2 separate regions of the Homo sapiens genome follow, and region 1 is linked to region 2. The links are contacts of gene promoters, found by promoter capture Hi-C in human tissues and cell types (Jung and others, 2019). All regions are on one chromosome and are shown on one strand. Each heading gives the region's core, a stretch centred on a gene start or on the middle of the fragment in contact. The rest is flanking DNA. Distances are from core to core; before and after follow the strand shown.

Region 1 (2,981 bases), core at 188-2,687, 260 kb after region 2:
GTGAAACCCCGTCTCTACTAAAAATACGAAAATTAGCCAGGTGTTGTGGTGGGCGCCTGTAAATTCCAGCAACTTGGGAGGCTGAGGCAGAGAATTGCTTGAACCTGGGAGGCAGAGGTTGCAGCGAGCCGAGATTGCGCCACTGCACTCCAACCTGGGGGACAGGGCGAGACTCCTTCTCAAAAAAAAAAAAAAGAAAAAGAAAAAGAAAAATTAGCCAAGCGTGGTGGCAGGCACCTGTAATCACAGCTACTCGGGAGCTGAGGCATGAGAATCGCTTGAACCCGGGAGACGGAGGTTGCAGTGAGCCGAGATCGTGCCACTGCACTCCAGCCTGGGGTATAGAGCGAGGCTCTATCTCAAAAAAAAAAAAAAAAAAAAAAAAAAAAAAAAAAGGAGAGTTTGGCGTTCATCAAGCAACATTTGGAAACTACAGAGAACTAGCAAGGCAAAGACGCCCCTCCCATCCCTAAGTCCTGTACCACTATGGTTGTTGACATTTTGATATATTTCCTTTCAGCCTTTTCTATTCTCTGTGAGCTTTTTAAATGCGTGTGTTGTGTGTGTGCACGTGTGTGTTTTACATAACTGTGTGAGCAAATTGTTTATACAGCCCTGTTTTTTCCCCTCTTAAAATGTAAGCTGTTCCCCTGTTAAAACATCTTTGGATAAACACAATCTCTAATGTTTGCACTATGTTTATTCAAAAGGGCAGCATTGCCAGAGGTTGAAGCTGTTTCCAATTTCCTCCCATTATAAATAATCCCCTCATGGACCTCCTTGTGTGTCCCAGAGGAGGGATTCTTGGGCCAAAGGGTGCGGACCCTTTGGCAGAGCTCATGGTCAAAAATCTCGGCAGAGTTTCAGCCTGACCCGAAGCTAAGATGACCTCATACGGTTAAAGTGAGATTGGACTGCTATTTATTTCCTGAACGTTTGATTCATGACTCAGGCTTGTCAGGGGATCTTTTTTTTTTTTTTCTTCTGTATGTGCTTGGTTGCAAGAAACAGAAATCCATTCACACTAGCTCACGTCAAAAGGGCAAGAGAATCGCTTGAACGCGGGAGGCGGAGGTTGCAGTGAGCCGAGATCGCGCCACTGCACTCCAGCCCGGGCGACAGTGCGAGACTCCGTCTCAATAACAAACAAACAAACAAAAAAAGGGCGGGGGGTGTTGTATCCTTCAGCAAGTAAAGCTCATATTCAGCTTGGACTAGCTGTCTGCGGAGCATGTTGTTGGGGTATATCTAGGCTATGTTGATTGTTGAAATACTGAATTATTTCCGTATTGGTTGGTAAATCATTCTGTCTCAAGTCGCTCCAATGACGTCCTCCACCAAGGCCACTCTAGCTGCCCTGGTCCCTCTCCCAGGACTTCCCAGACCTCTCCACAATGCAGGAAGTAAAGGGTCAATATCGGGCACAGAAGTGAACCATGCTGCTCGGTCAGTGCCCAAAGTATTGGTTGTGAAATTCATTTTTTCTTTTCTTTTTTTTTTTTTTGGAGACAAATTCTCACTATGGAACTCAAGCGATCCTCCTGCCTTGGCCTCCCAATGTACTGGGATTAAGGTGTGAGCCACTGCACCTGGACTGCTTGTAAAATATTTGATGATTCGCCTAGATGCAAGTACCAGAACAGCTGACTCAAATGGCTTAAATTGTAAGGGGAATCTGTGGCTGGAAAATCCACACTTGTGCTGGCTTCAGCCAAAGTTGACACAATGGCTCAGCCATGTCACCAAGGACTTTCTTTTCTTTCTTTCCTTCTTTCTTTCTTCTTTCTTTTTTTCTTTCTTTTCTCTCTCTTTCTTTCTCTCTCTCTTTTTTTTTTTTTTTTTTGACGTAGTCTGGTTCTGTTGCCCAGGCTGGAGTGCAGTGGCACAATCTTGGCTCACTGCGGCAACCTCCAATTCCCCGGAATTCAAGTGATTCTCCTGCCTTAGCCTCCCGAGTAGCTGGGACTATAGGTATGTGCCACCACGCCCAGCTAATTTTTGTATTTTTATTTTTTTATTTATTATTTTTTTAATCATTCTTGGGTGTTTCTCGCAGAGGGGGATTTGGCAGGGTCACAGGACAATAGTGGAGGGAAGGTCAGCAGATAAACAAGTGAACAAAGGTCTCTGGTTTTCCTAGGCAGAGGACCCTGCGGCCTTCCGCAGTGTTTGTGTCCCTGGGTACTTGAGATTAGGGAGTGGTGATGACTCTTAACGAGCATGCTGCCTTCAAGCATCTGTTTAACAAAGCACATCTTGCACCGCCCTTAATCCATTCAACCCTGAGTGGACACAGCACATGTTTCAGAGAGCACAGGGTTGGGGGCAAGGTCACAGATCAACAGGATCCCAAGGCAGAAGAATTTTTCTTAGTACAGAACAAAATGAAAAGTCTCCCATGTCTACCTCTTCCTACACAGACACAGCAACCATCCGATTTCTCAATCTTTTCTCCACCTTTCCCCATTTTCTATTCCACAAAACTGCCATTGTCATCATGGCCCGTTCTCAATGAGCTGTTGAGTACACCTCCCAGACGGGGTGGTGGCCGGGCAGAGGGGCTCCTCACTTCCCAGTAGGGGCGGCCGGGCAGAGGCGCCCCTCACCTCCCGGACGGGGCGGCTGGCCGGGCGGGGGGCCGACCCCCCCACCTCCCTCCCGGACGGGGCGGCTGGCCGGGCAGAGGGGCTCCTCACTTCCCAGTAGGGGCGGCCGGGCAGAGGCGCCCCTGACCTCCCGGACGGGGCGGCTGGCCGGGCGGGGGGCCGACCCCCCCACCTCCCTCCCGGACGGGGCGGCTGGCCGGGCAGAGGGGCTCCTCACTTCCCAGTAGGGGCGGCCGGGCAGAGGCGCCCCTCACCTCCCGGACGGGGCGGCTGGCCGGGTGGGGGGCTGACCCCCCCACCTCCCTCCCGGACGGGGCGGCTGGCCGGGCGGGGGGCTGACCCCCCCACCTCCCTCCCGGACGGGGCGGCTGGCCG
Region 2 (3,002 bases), core at 149-2,648:
ACACTTGTAATTCCAGCACTTTGTTGAGGCCAAGGTGGGCAGATTGCTTGAACTCAGGACTTTGAGACCAGCCTGGGCAACATGATGAAATCCTGTTTCTACCAAAAAACACAAAAATTGGCTGGGCGTGGTGGCTCACGCCTGTAATCCCAGCACTTTGGGAGGCTGAGGCAGGTGGATCACAAGGTCAGGAGTTTGAGACCAGCCTGGCCAACATGGCGAAACTCCATCTCTACTAAAAATACAAAAATTAGCCGGGCATGGGTGGCGGGCACCTGTATTCCCAGCTACTCAGGAGGCTGAGGCAGGAGAATCGCTTGAACCCGGGAGGCGGAGGCAGTGAACCAAGATCATGCCATCATCACCCCGTCTCTGATAAGTACAAAAAAAAAATTAGCTGGGCGTGGTGGCGCATCCCTGTAATCCCAGCAACTCGGGAGGCTGAGGCAGGATAATCACTTGAACCCAGGAGGCGGAGTTGCAGTGAGCTGAGATTGTGCCACTGCACTCAAGCCTGGGTAACAGAATGAAACTCCGTCTCAAAAATAATAATAATAATAATTTTAAAAAATTAAAAAAAAAATCTAGGGCTGGAAGAAGCTGGGAAAAAGACAAGGAACTAGGGACGCAGCCACCCTAGACGACCCCTACTCACCTTGACCCTGAAGGGGCAGCGGGTCTGGTCCACCAGCATGATGTTCTCAGGCTTGAGATCAGCGTGGATGATAGCCAGCTCCTTGAGCCGGGCCAGGGCTGTGAGCACCTGCAGGGTGACTGTACGGATGTGGCGGGCGGGGAGGGGCGCGAAGTTGTTCTCCTTCTGGAACTCGAAAAGGTTTTGCTCCAGCAGCTCAAAGACCAGGTAGAACTTGAGGGCGTCATGGAAGAACTCAAGGAAGCGGATGACGTGGGCCTCTTCAGGGTCTAGGCCTCGCATGCAGTGCAGCAGCTTCAGCTCGTTCTTGATGATGCGGTTGCGGTAGGCGTCATTCTTGAGGATCTTGATGGCCACCATCTCGCCCGTGCTCCGCCGCCAGCCCTTGGCTACCTCCCCGAAGGTCCCCTTGCCCAAGACCTCGATGATGTCGTAGCAGTCAGTCTCCGACTGGATGGTGGACATGGTGCCGCTGCTGCCAGACACCGCCCTGCCCAGGCCCCTGTACCACTGGCTCTGCCGCCCAGGCCTCCCGCCTGGCTGCTGACACAGCAGGCCCCCCAGTGGGGGAAAGAGAACCGCACTCGTGTCTCCTCCTATGAGGTTGGCCCCTGCTTCCCTGGCACCCCCAAACCCCCAGGCCACACTGTCAGTCTGCCAGGGGCTGCACCCCTCCCCAGAAACCCTCCTGGCTTGGGATGAGGGGCCCCAGGCCCCACCGAATGGGTTCCAGCGCTGTTGAGTGGCTCTGGTTCTGTTGTTGGAGACCTGAGCCCTGGCTGGAGTGGGGGTGGGGTACCAGGCTGGGCCCCCTCCCCCGCCCAGTGGCGGAATCTTGCAAAGACCAAACAGGTGAAGTGTTGACAGAGGGGGGTCTAATCGTGGGCCTTGGGCATACAGGAATGGGGATAAGGCAGGAGTGAGGAAAGGTGGGCTTCTTGAGCTTGGGAGATGTGATGTGTGTGTGTCTGTGTTCAGAAAACTCCTGTCCCAGTCTGTGGCTACTGTGGGGTGAGGTTGTAAAAGGCCCTGAATGCCAGGCTAAGGAGTTTGGATTCTGTTCTGAGGGCACTGGGGAGCCACAGAAGGGCTTTGAGCAGGGGAGGGCAGGGTCAGATATGAGTGTCAGAAAGTTACTGTATGAAAAGGGATAGGTTGGAGCGGGTAAGAGTGGAAGCCCCAAGCCAGGGAAAGAGTCCAGGACAGGGCACAGATGGGAGAGGTTGGGGAGGAGAGGGCGAGGCCAATGGATGAGACACTCAAAAGGCCAGGAGAAGCAGCCGTGAGACCGACGGTTTGAGGGAAAGGCGGGAGCTGTCTAAGAACGGGCCTAGGGCTCTGGGATGAAGGGGCAGTCCCCGAGAAATGGACATGGATAAGAAGCAGCTTGGGGGAGATGTTGAGGCCAAATTAGAAAATGTATTTATTTTTGGCTGGGTGCGGTGGGTCACGCCTGTAATCCCAGCACTTTGGGAGGCCAAGGAAGGCAGATCATAAGGTCAGGAGATCGAGACCATCCTGGCTAACACGGTGAAACTCTGTCTCTACTAAAAATACTAAAAATTAGCCAGGCATAGTGGAGGGCGCCTGTAGTCCCAGCTACTCGGGAGGCTAAGGCAGAAGAATAGCTTGAACCCGGGAGGTGGAGGTTGCAGTGAGCCGAGATTGCACCACTGCACTCCAGCCTGGGTGACAGAGCGAGACTCCATCTCAAAAAAAAAAAAAAAGTGTTCATTTTTATTTATCTTTTTAATTTTTTGTAGAAATGGGGTCTCACTATGTTGTCCAGGCTGGTCTCAAGTGATCCTCCTGGCCTCAAGTGATCCTCCTGCCTCAACCTTCCAAAGTGCTGGGATTGTAGACATGAGCCACCACTCCAGCCAGATTAGAATATTTAACAGCGGGCCGGGCTCGGTGGCTCATGCCTGTAATCCCAGCACTTTGGGAGGCTGAGGCAGGTGGATCACCTGAGGTCGGGAGTTCGAGACCAGCCTGACCAACATGGAGAAACCCCGTCTCTACTAAAAATACAAAATTAGCCGGGTGTGTTAGCACATGCCTGTAGTCCCAGCTACTCAAGAGGCTGAGGTCGGCAGGCTGAGGTATGAGAACTGCTTGAACGCGGGAGGTGGGGTTGCAGTGAGCCAAGATTGCGCCATTGCACTCCAGCCTGGGCAACAAGAGTGAAACTCCGTCTCAAAAAAAAAAAAAAAAGTAAAAGAAAATGTAACATCAAAACATTTAAACAAGGATGAAGTTCTTTAGAAGTCTTATCTGATCCTTACAACATACAAAGTAGGGATTTTATGGAAGAGAAAATCAAGGCACAAAGAAGTTTTTAAAGTGC

Evidence for each region. The method cuts DNA at HindIII sites, captures the fragments that hold promoters and counts their contacts. A contact is called where the count stands out against the background at its distance.
Region 1: a contact is called between a fragment that was not itself captured here and the fragment with the promoter of HIPK4 in region 2, in 2 of the 25 tissues and cell types used here (dorsolateral prefrontal cortex and liver).

The regions. Positions count from the first base shown.
Region 1 is chr19:40,645,359-40,648,339 of GRCh38, forward strand. No RefSeq gene overlaps it. Among named protein-coding and RNA genes, the nearest start is that of NUMBL, 44 kb to the right of the region's middle. RefSeq lists an enhancer at 2,126-2,981. The HindIII fragment of the contact is 9,795 bases long and covers 1-2,981 here.
Region 2 is chr19:40,388,783-40,391,784 of GRCh38, forward strand. It overlaps HIPK4 (homeodomain interacting protein kinase 4), which reads right to left and starts at 1,399. Exons shown (of 4, transcript NM_144685.5): 1 at 656-1,399. The coding sequence starts at 1,120. RefSeq lists enhancers at 752-1,301, 1,302-1,851. The HindIII fragment of the contact is 19,093 bases long and covers 1-3,002 here.